Linked DNA regions of Homo sapiens: regions 2 and 3 are each linked to region 1. Evidence: promoter capture Hi-C in human tissues and cell types (Jung and others, 2019). All regions are on one chromosome and are shown on one strand. The core of a region is centred on a gene start or on the middle of the fragment in contact, and the rest is flanking DNA. Distances in the headings are between cores, read along the strand shown. Region 1 holds the start of DDI2 (DDI proteasomal shuttling factor 2). Region 2 overlaps SPEN (spen family transcriptional repressor). Region 3 overlaps SPEN (spen family transcriptional repressor).

Region 1 (2,942 bases), core at 413-2,912:
GAAAAAAAATTGAAGAGTTTATTTTCTCTATTTAAACAGTCCTTTCCTAGTTCTCCACATGAGGCATTCACTGACAGAACTGGTTCCTGAGCTTTTGTGGATTAACTTTTTAAATTCTTTCTGAACAGCTTTATGCCAAGGTTCTAAAGTTCACATTGTGTAAAGGAATCATACTTCTGAACAAAGTATTGACACGTGTTTACCATAAGACAGCAGAACAAGCTGCAGTTGGGCAATCGTTTTGTAAACTATTTCATAACTGCAGTAGAAAATCAAGATTTACTTGATGGAGACTTGGGAGACCTCTATAATTTTCTTAATGTTTAGACTATTTCCTCCAGGCTAAATTTATTAAGTCATGATCTAAGTGTTTTAGTGTAAAGTTTACAGCGTTAGTGTCACCGATTCTGTTTGATAAAGACTAGGGGCAGCCCCAAAGCATTTTGAGAATTACTTTGCTTAGTTAAAATATGAGAGGCTGAACTTCTTTCCAGCAAGCTGAGTAGGGAAATGAAACCACCAAACAGCACTGATACTAGGCCGTTTCCAAGCAAATATCCTTTTAAAGCATTGAGCTTTGAACTGACCCAAACTCTGAACTGTGACCTGAAAGAAAAAGGGCCTTCTGGCTTACTACCAGGGTAGAACCGAAACAAACAAACAGCTTGAGTTGAACCAATAGGTACTGTTTTTCAAAAGAATTTAACCAGAAACGCATGTGGTGGGTAAAGAGCATTTCCAAAGACCCCAAAATGAGGTAGTGCAAGTCTTAAACTTTTTCTTTCACCGGAAGTGCAAATCTGTGCATTTAAAGGTAAACTGCGTATATTTAAGCAGAAACCCTCTCCAGAAAAAAAAAAAAAAAAAAGCAGAGGAACATCTATCTACCACAGTGATCCAAACTGGTATTTCTGGTTTGCAGGATGTATGAATCCTAGCAAACCCAGGGCTGCTTCTGAGGTCCACAACGATATCCTACACTCGGGATTAGAAACAGGGAAGGGCCAAAGAGCCAAAGGTGGGGAGGGTTAGCGCTGCTCAACAGTCCACGCGCCCCTCACGCTGCAGTGGGTGCGTCTGCGGTCAGGTTCTCCGCTCCCTCTCCTCGTACCCCACCCCATGCTCGGAGTGTGTGAGGGCAGCTACTGATGCCAGCTCCCCAGCTCCTTTCCGGATGCGGGGGTGACCTGAGAATGGCTATCCTTGCTCCCCCCAGCCCCCAATTCTTCACCAGTAGCAAAGGGAGGGAGTGAGGCCCCGAGGCGGGGAGGGCTTAGCTCCGGGGCAGGCCCGGCTCGCTGCCCGGCGTACCTGGCTCTCGGCTGCGGGGATGCCAGACTCGAGCTCGCACAGCGCGCGGAAGTTGTGCAGCTCGAAGTCGGCGTCGACCTGGAGGGAAAAGGTCACCTCGGAGAGGTCCCTCCGCACACAGTACACGGTGAGCAGCATGGCCCGGGCCCGACCCGGCTCGGCTCGGCTCGGCCCGGCCTGGGCGCGGGGCGCAGGGGAAGAGGCGGCGGCGTGGCCTGGCTGGTGCTGCGGGAGGACGGCGCCGGCTGCTCGTTCGCTCGCTCGCTCCCTCCCTCACACACGCTCAGTGAGTCACTCCCTCCCGCCCTCACTAGCAAGCACGGCCGCCGCCACACGCCTGCGAGTCCGTCTGCCTGCCGGCCTGCCTCCCACGGCTGCCGCCAAGCGCGCCGGCCGCCCGGCGCCCCGCCCCGCCGCAACGCGGCTGCCGTAAAGCCCGCCTCGCCTTCCCCGCCTTCGCAACGCAGCGGGGGGCGGGGCCGGGAAGAGGAGGAGGAAGCCAGGAGAGGATAGGAGGGGGAGGAGTGGGAAGGGGGCGTGGAAGAGGAGAGGGAGGAAGGGCAAGAAAAGGGGAGGGAAGGAAAGGAACGCGGAGAAGGAAATCTCTGCTGACTGGTTGACTTAATGACAGAAGTCTGTGGAGGAGTCCCCGGTCTTATTTATTCACCGAACAGGCATTGATTAAGCGCCTACCATGTGTCGGGCGCTGGCGATGCAGAAATGAATAAAAGGATAAATCCTTCTCCGTAACTCTCAATCTAGTACAGGAGTTAGTAATAAAACATATTTTTCGAGGTAGAAATTGAGGCTCCGACAGAGTAATTCACTTCCTGTCTTAGTGATTTAGGATTGAAACCAAAATCATTACCCTCCCTAGTCTACAGAAGCCAGTTGGCTGTGGCCCACGCCTACCTCCCCAGCCCCTTCTTCCGAGCTCTTCCCACATTCTCTGCCCTCCCAGCCACATAGGTCAGTTCCTCCAAGGCTCCATTCCCCTGTCTTGTAAATAATTTTCTCTCTACTTGGACTGTGTCTGTTTCCTAGCCCTAGCAACTCCTACCACCTAGCGCAGTGCCTTTTTGGGCACAGCTTAGAATCTACTCAATAAATATTTGCTACTTTAATGGCCTGTTTTTAAGGCACACAGCTGATGAGTGGTAGAGGCCCAGAACTAAGGTGCGGATGAGTAAGAAAACCAAAACTGAAAGATGAACTTGTAATGGATGCCAGATTAGCATCTTTCCATTTACTCCCACTCCCCCTCCATGGTAGGGAGCCCTTTTCCATTTTAACAGGAGAGAAGGAGCAAATAAGATGGCTGTGGGTGCAGGTAAGTAGGTAGTAAGTAGGCTGTTGGTGGCAGGAAAGGGAGAATTAGCAGCTGAAGGCTTTTACAAAGAGAAATTAGAGGAGCTGGGCGCGGTGGCTCACGCCTGTAATCCCAGCACTTTGGGAGGCCAAGGCGGGCGGATCACAAGGTCAGGAGTTCGAGACCAGCTTGGCCAATATGGTGAAACCCCGTCTCTACTAAAAATACAAAAATTAGCCGGGCATGGTGGCGGACACCTATAGTCCCAGCTACTCGGGAGGCTGAGGCAGGAGGGTCACTTGAACGCGGGAGGCGGAGGTTG
Region 2 (2,908 bases), core at 20-2,519, 280 kb before region 1:
AGGCATGGTGGTATGTGCCTGTAGTCCCAGCTACTTGGCGGGGGTGCTGAGTCAGGAAGATGGCTTGAACCTGGGAAGTCAAGGTTGCAGTGGGCCAAAATCGCACCACTACACTGCAGCCTAGATGACAAAGTGAGATCCTGTCTCAAAAAAACAAGCAAACAAAATAACAAATGCAAGGATGTGAAGAAATTGGAACCCTTGTGCATTACTGACGGGAAAGTAAAATGGTACAGCCATGGGGTTCCCCAAACGCTAACTTACCACTGAACCAGCGATTCCACTATGGTTATATACCCAAGAGAAATGAAGACGGGAACTCAACTAGATATTTGTACACTCACATTCATAGCATGTTCAACACCCAAAAGGTGGAAGCAACCCAAGTGTCTATCGACAGATGAGTGAGTCAACAAAATATGGTATACACACAAAATAGAATATTATTCAGCCTTTTAAAGAAAGGAAATTTTGGCTGGGTGCAGTGGCTCACGCCTGTAACCCCAGCACTTTGGGAAGCCAAGGTGGACGGATCACCTGAGATCAGGAATTCAAGACCAGCGTGGCCAACATGGTGAAACCCCATCTCTACTAAAAACACAAAAAAATTAGCCAGGCGGTAGTTGCACATGCCTGTAATCCCAGCTACTCGGGAGGCTGAGGCAGGAGAATCGCTTGAGCCTGGGAGGTGGAGGTTGCAGTGAGCCAAGACTGAGACACTGCACTCTAGCCTGGGCAACAGAGTGAGACTCTGTCTCAAACAAAAAAAAAAAAAAAGAAAAAAAGAAAAAAAAAATTTTGACAAATGCTACATCATGAATGAACCTTGAAGATATTATGCTAAATGAAATAAACCAGCCATACCCAAAAAAGATTGTATGATTCCATTTATAGGAGGTACCTGGAGTAGTCAACTTCATAAAGGCAGAAAGTAGAATGGTGGTTGCCAGGGGCTGGGGGAAAGGGAGAATTGGGAGTTATTATTTAATGGGTATAGAGTTTCAGTTGAGGAAGATGAAAAAGTTCTGGAGATAGATGGTGGTGATGGTTGCAAAATAATGTCAATGTATTTAAGTGCCACTGAACTGAACACTTAAAAGTCGTTAAAATGGTAAATTTTATTTTACACACACACACACACACACACACACACACACACACAAAGATAAATTAAGAAGTAAAATACAAAGTTAGTGGTCACTCTCCTTTGTTCCTTAGAAAAAGATAAGCGATTCCAAACCAGTCAAAGTAAGCTACCTGCTGCTTTTTGCCCACAATGCTCTGCTCAATCAAGGGGTCTCACAGCCTGTCTTTCCCAGGTAAACTTCCTCAGAGATGACATCAGGGCAATGAGTCAGACCTAACTGGTGACTGTGCAACTATTACAAAAGAAACGGGGAAAGCATTGCAGGACTCAACTGTATAAATCATCAATGAAGCCCTTTAGAGCCAAAGTTATTGAAAAGCGATCTAAACTCTTTAAATTTAGGATAGTATTAAGAAAATGCTGTGTTGATACATTAAAAAGCAAAAATGCGGCCAGGTGCAGTGGCTCAAGCCTGTAATCCCAGCACTTTGGGAGGCCGAGGCAGGTGGATCACCTAAGGTCAGGAGTTTGAGACCATCCTGACCAATATGGTGAAACTCCATCTCTACTAAAAAATACAAAAATTAGGCCAGGCGTGGTGGCCCACGCCTGTAATCCCAGCACTTTGAGAGGCCGAGGCGGGGGGATCACCTGAGGTTGGAAGTTTGAAGACCAGCCTGACCAACTTGGAGAAACTCCGCCTCTACTAAAAATACAATATTAGCTGGGTGTGGTGGCTGGTGCCTATAATCCCAGCTACTCAGGATTACAAGCAGGAGAATCGCTTGAACCCAGAAGGCGGAGGTTGCGGTTAGCCGAGACTACGCCACTGCACTCCACCCTGGGCAACAAGAGCGAAACTCCGTCTCAAAAAAAAAAAAAAGAAAGAAAAATTAGCCAGGCATGATGGCGTACGCCTGTAGTCCCAGCTACTCGGGTGGCTGAGACAGGAGAATCGCTTGAACCCAGAAGTGGAGGTTGCAGTGAGCCGAGATTGAACCACTGCACTCCAGCCTGGGCGACAAAGCGAGACTCCATCTCCAAAAAACAAAGTTTTTATTATGTAACCAATATTTTAATTTCAACTTTGTTTGGTCTATCAGATTTCTCCGGTCATCAGAAACTACAAAGATTTCTAACGGGAAAAGAGCTGATATGATAATGATTAACTGAATTAGTAGAGTGAAACTGACAAAGGAAGAAAGCTTTCTCTTACTAGACAAAGCTGGAGGTGGAAAGAGAACCATAACCAACCACCAACACTAATGTTTCTTTTCTTTCACGACAAGGTCTCGCTCTGTCATCCAGGCTGGAGTGCAGAGGTGCACTCATGGCTCACTGCAGCCTCAACCTCCTGGGCTCAAGCAATCCTCCCACCTCAGCCTCCTAAGTAGCTAGGACAACAGGCATGCGCCACCACACCAGGCTAACACTTAAAATTACTTGTAGAGACAGGATCTCACTATGTTGCCCAAGCTAGTAATTTTTCCTCTGATTACAATGACCCTTTATTGCTGATATAAACAACTAATAACACTTCCTAAAGATTACTTAGTACAAAATCTGGACCTCAGAAATTAACTTCTTAAAGCTCTCCTACTATCCATCTAGACTTCACCTCTGAATATTTATAAACATCAAACAAATCTAAACCTTAGGCAGGTACTGGCTCCACTTAAGTAATAAATTAATCAATAGGTAAGATTTAGGCTTAACTAGATTTAGTGTTGATGGTCACTAAAGTGATGGTAAAGGCTGGGCATAGTGGCTCAATCCTGTAACCCCAGCACTTTGGGAGGCCGAGGAGGGTGGATAACCTGA
Region 3 (2,822 bases), core at 156-2,655, 320 kb before region 1:
ACCCCATTTTCCTAGAGCTTCCAGAGGTGCCAGTGTCACCAGAGGCACCCGTGCAGCCACCCCAGAGCACCTCCTGCTGTAAAAGACAGGGTTGCTGGGCAAACGAGTCATTGAGGGCCTCCCACCCCATCCCTGCGGCCCCTTCCCACAAAGGCAAGAGAGAACCTTGCTCCCCCAGGAGAGAAGCCTTACCTGTGTGATAAGTGTGGGCGTGGCTTCAACCGGGTAGACAACCTGCGCTCCCACGTGAAGACCGTGCACCAGGGCAAGGCAGGCATCAAGATCCTGGAGCCCGAGGAGGGCAGTGAGGTCAGCGTGGTCACTGTGGATGACATGGTCACGCTGGCTACCGAGGCACTGGCAGCGACAGCCGTCACTCAGCTCACAGGTGCGGGCTGTGGGCAGCAGAGGGAAGTCACAGGCAGCTTGCTGCCAGGGTGGCGATGATGGGGCAGTGCCCGTGCCTTCACCTTAGGCCCTGCGACTCTGCCCGCAGTGGTGCCGGTGGGAGCTGCAGTGACAGCCGATGAGACGGAAGTCCTGAAGGCCGAGATCAGCAAAGCTGTGAAGCAAGTGCAGGAAGAAGGTGAGGGGGGCCACCCGGGTGTGAATGTGGGCAGAGCCCGGGGTCCTTCCCACTCTGACTGCTGCCCCACCTCCACAGACCCCAACACTCACATCCTCTACGCCTGTGACTCCTGTGGGGACAAGTTTCTGGATGCCAACAGCCTGGCTCAGCATGTGCGAATCCACACAGCCCAGGCACTGGTCATGTTCCAGACAGACGCGGACTTCTATCAGCAGTATGGGCCAGGTGGCACGTGGCCTGCCGGGCAGGTGCTGCAGGCTGGGGAGCTGGTCTTCCGCCCTCGCGACGGGGCTGAGGGCCAGCCCGCACTGGCAGAGACCTCCCCTACAGCTCCTGAATGTCCCCCGCCTGCCGAGTGAGCTGGCGGCCCTTCTGACTGTTTATTTAAGGATGGATGGCACCCTGGAACCGGGAAGGGTGGCCTGTTCCCTAGAGAGAATAAATTGGATTATTTTCTAATGCTGCCTATAGGTCCCTGTGGGGTGGGTGGGGAGCTGGCAGCTACAACTGATGCCACAGAAAGGCTGTACCACCCAGGAACCAGCCTTCCTGGGAAGGTCAGCCCGTCCCTCTTGCTGAATGCGACTAGAATCAGAGCCAGGCTGGCTGCTTTGCCCCAAGTTGAGGAGTGGGCAGTACACTCAGGCTGGAGAGACCTCGGCACCACGTGCCCCATGCCCTCATCCCATCTTGTTTGGAGGCTTCTCACCTGTTCATCTTTAGGGCCTGGCCTCCCCTCGCCCCACAGCTATGACCCTGCTCCCCCTCGGCCCAGGTTGGGGAGAGGTTGGGAAGTTGGGGAAGGGACCAGCAGGGGCGGCCACCAACTGCTTACCAGGGTACAGGCAACCCAGAGCGAGCCTGGCTCACAGGCCACTGCTGCCAGGCCTGGCTCAGGGGTCCTTCCAGCCAGAGTGGCAAGGTAGGCCAAGGAGAGTGCCAGGCCCAGGCCACTGCCCTGGCTCTGATGGGCCTAAGGGAGCAGATGGAAGCCACACTTGCTTCAGGGTTACCTGGCCCGAGGACTAAGGCCAAGCCGGTGCCATCATCTTTTGGGAAGGTTCAAAAGATGGCATCTCTGCCACCAGGCTGGGGGCCCAGAGGGACAGGAAGGAGCAGCCAGGGGCTTTGATGGGGAGGTAGGGAGCTGGTGGAACAGCTTTCTCACTCCTGTCAGCAAGGAGTCAGGAGGTACCATCTCGTCCCCCCACAGTGGCCCCGGCATCTATGGCCCACCGTTCAGAGGGGGATGCTATCTTCTCACACCAGGACAGGCCCATTTGTAGGAGCCCATTGGTATTCCAAGTGAGACCACCAACTTTATAGTCCCCATGTCCCTGTCCCAACTCCACAGCTTCTAGAGAATCCAGCTGCAGGGGAAGCCTGTCCCCAACTCCCATTCTCCTGTCTGGAGGCAGAGACGGGATCAAATGAGCCCCCAGGGGCCCCAGGAGGCCACTGCCTCTGCAGGAGTCAGCCTGCTTCACACTGGGAGAAGGGAAGAGGGGGCAAGAGAGAGACAAGAAACCAAAGCTTGCTAAAATGTTTCTGAGATGGCATGGGGTGTGGTTATATTCTGTATCAAAATTGGAAGTGCCTTCCTTCCACATTACCTAAGAACCAGTTAGGACTCTGAAGACACCACAAGAGTGAGAAATGGTTAAGTTCAGTGTCCGTGACAAAAATCTCCTTTGTACAAGATAAAATTATCCTTGGGGAGGAGGACTGACTGACTAGGAGGCAGAAGGGAAACAGTTCCCATGTACAGACTTGGCATGGGGATCAAAAGCGGGATGAGGGCTGACTGTTCCCATAAGCCAAGGACCCATGGTTCGTCCTCCCACCCAAGTGACAATCACACTCACACTTGGTGTGTTTTATATTTTTTAATAAAGTTTGTAATCCAATGGACACACAAAACAAAACTGCGCTGAGAAAAACAGTTTCATAAATTAATAAGTGTTAGGAAGTTGGGGGAAGAGATCAAGGTAATAGGAAGAGGGGTTAGCCAGTCTTTTTGTACAGGTGCCGTGTGACACTTCCACATCGCGGGAGCAGGACCCGTGCTGTACCGAAGCGCACTTATACAAATGAGTGGGCAATACAAAGTCTGAATATGAAAATAAGATTTCCTCTGAAAACACATTTTTGGCACAGATTAAAAAAAACGTATGTCGGGGGATTTGATTTTTTAAGTCAGTATTATATATATTTATATATATTATATATTTAT

What was found. Contacts are between HindIII fragments. The study calls those that stand out against the background at their distance.
Region 2: a fragment that was not itself captured here is called in contact with the fragment with the promoter of DDI2 in region 1 in 2 of the 25 tissues and cell types used here (aorta and dorsolateral prefrontal cortex).
Region 3: a fragment that was not itself captured here is called in contact with the fragment with the promoter of DDI2 in region 1 in 1 of the 25 tissues and cell types used here (dorsolateral prefrontal cortex).

What each region holds. Positions count from the first base shown.
Region 1 is chr1:15,616,178-15,619,119 of GRCh38, reverse strand. It overlaps DDI2 (DDI proteasomal shuttling factor 2), which reads right to left and starts at 1,662. Exons shown (of 10, transcript NM_032341.5): 1 at 1,312-1,662. The coding sequence starts at 1,449. RefSeq lists a silencer at 1,339-1,908. The HindIII fragment of the contact is 8,472 bases long and covers 1-2,942 here.
Region 2 is chr1:15,896,428-15,899,335 of GRCh38, reverse strand. All of the region lies in intron 3 of SPEN (spen family transcriptional repressor), which reads right to left. Among named protein-coding and RNA genes, the nearest start is that of SPEN-AS1, 50 kb to the right of the region's middle. The HindIII fragment of the contact is 7,337 bases long and covers 1-2,908 here.
Region 3 is chr1:15,940,095-15,942,916 of GRCh38, reverse strand. SPEN (spen family transcriptional repressor) reads right to left here. Exons shown (of 15, transcript NM_015001.3): 15 at 2,461-2,822. ZBTB17 (zinc finger and BTB domain containing 17) reads left to right here. Exons shown (of 16, transcript NM_003443.3): 14 at 179-388; 15 at 497-586; 16 at 665-1,048. The coding sequence ends at 948. Among named protein-coding and RNA genes, the nearest start is that of ZBTB17, 35 kb to the left of the region's middle. RefSeq lists an enhancer at 1-793. The HindIII fragment of the contact is 9,342 bases long and covers 1-2,822 here.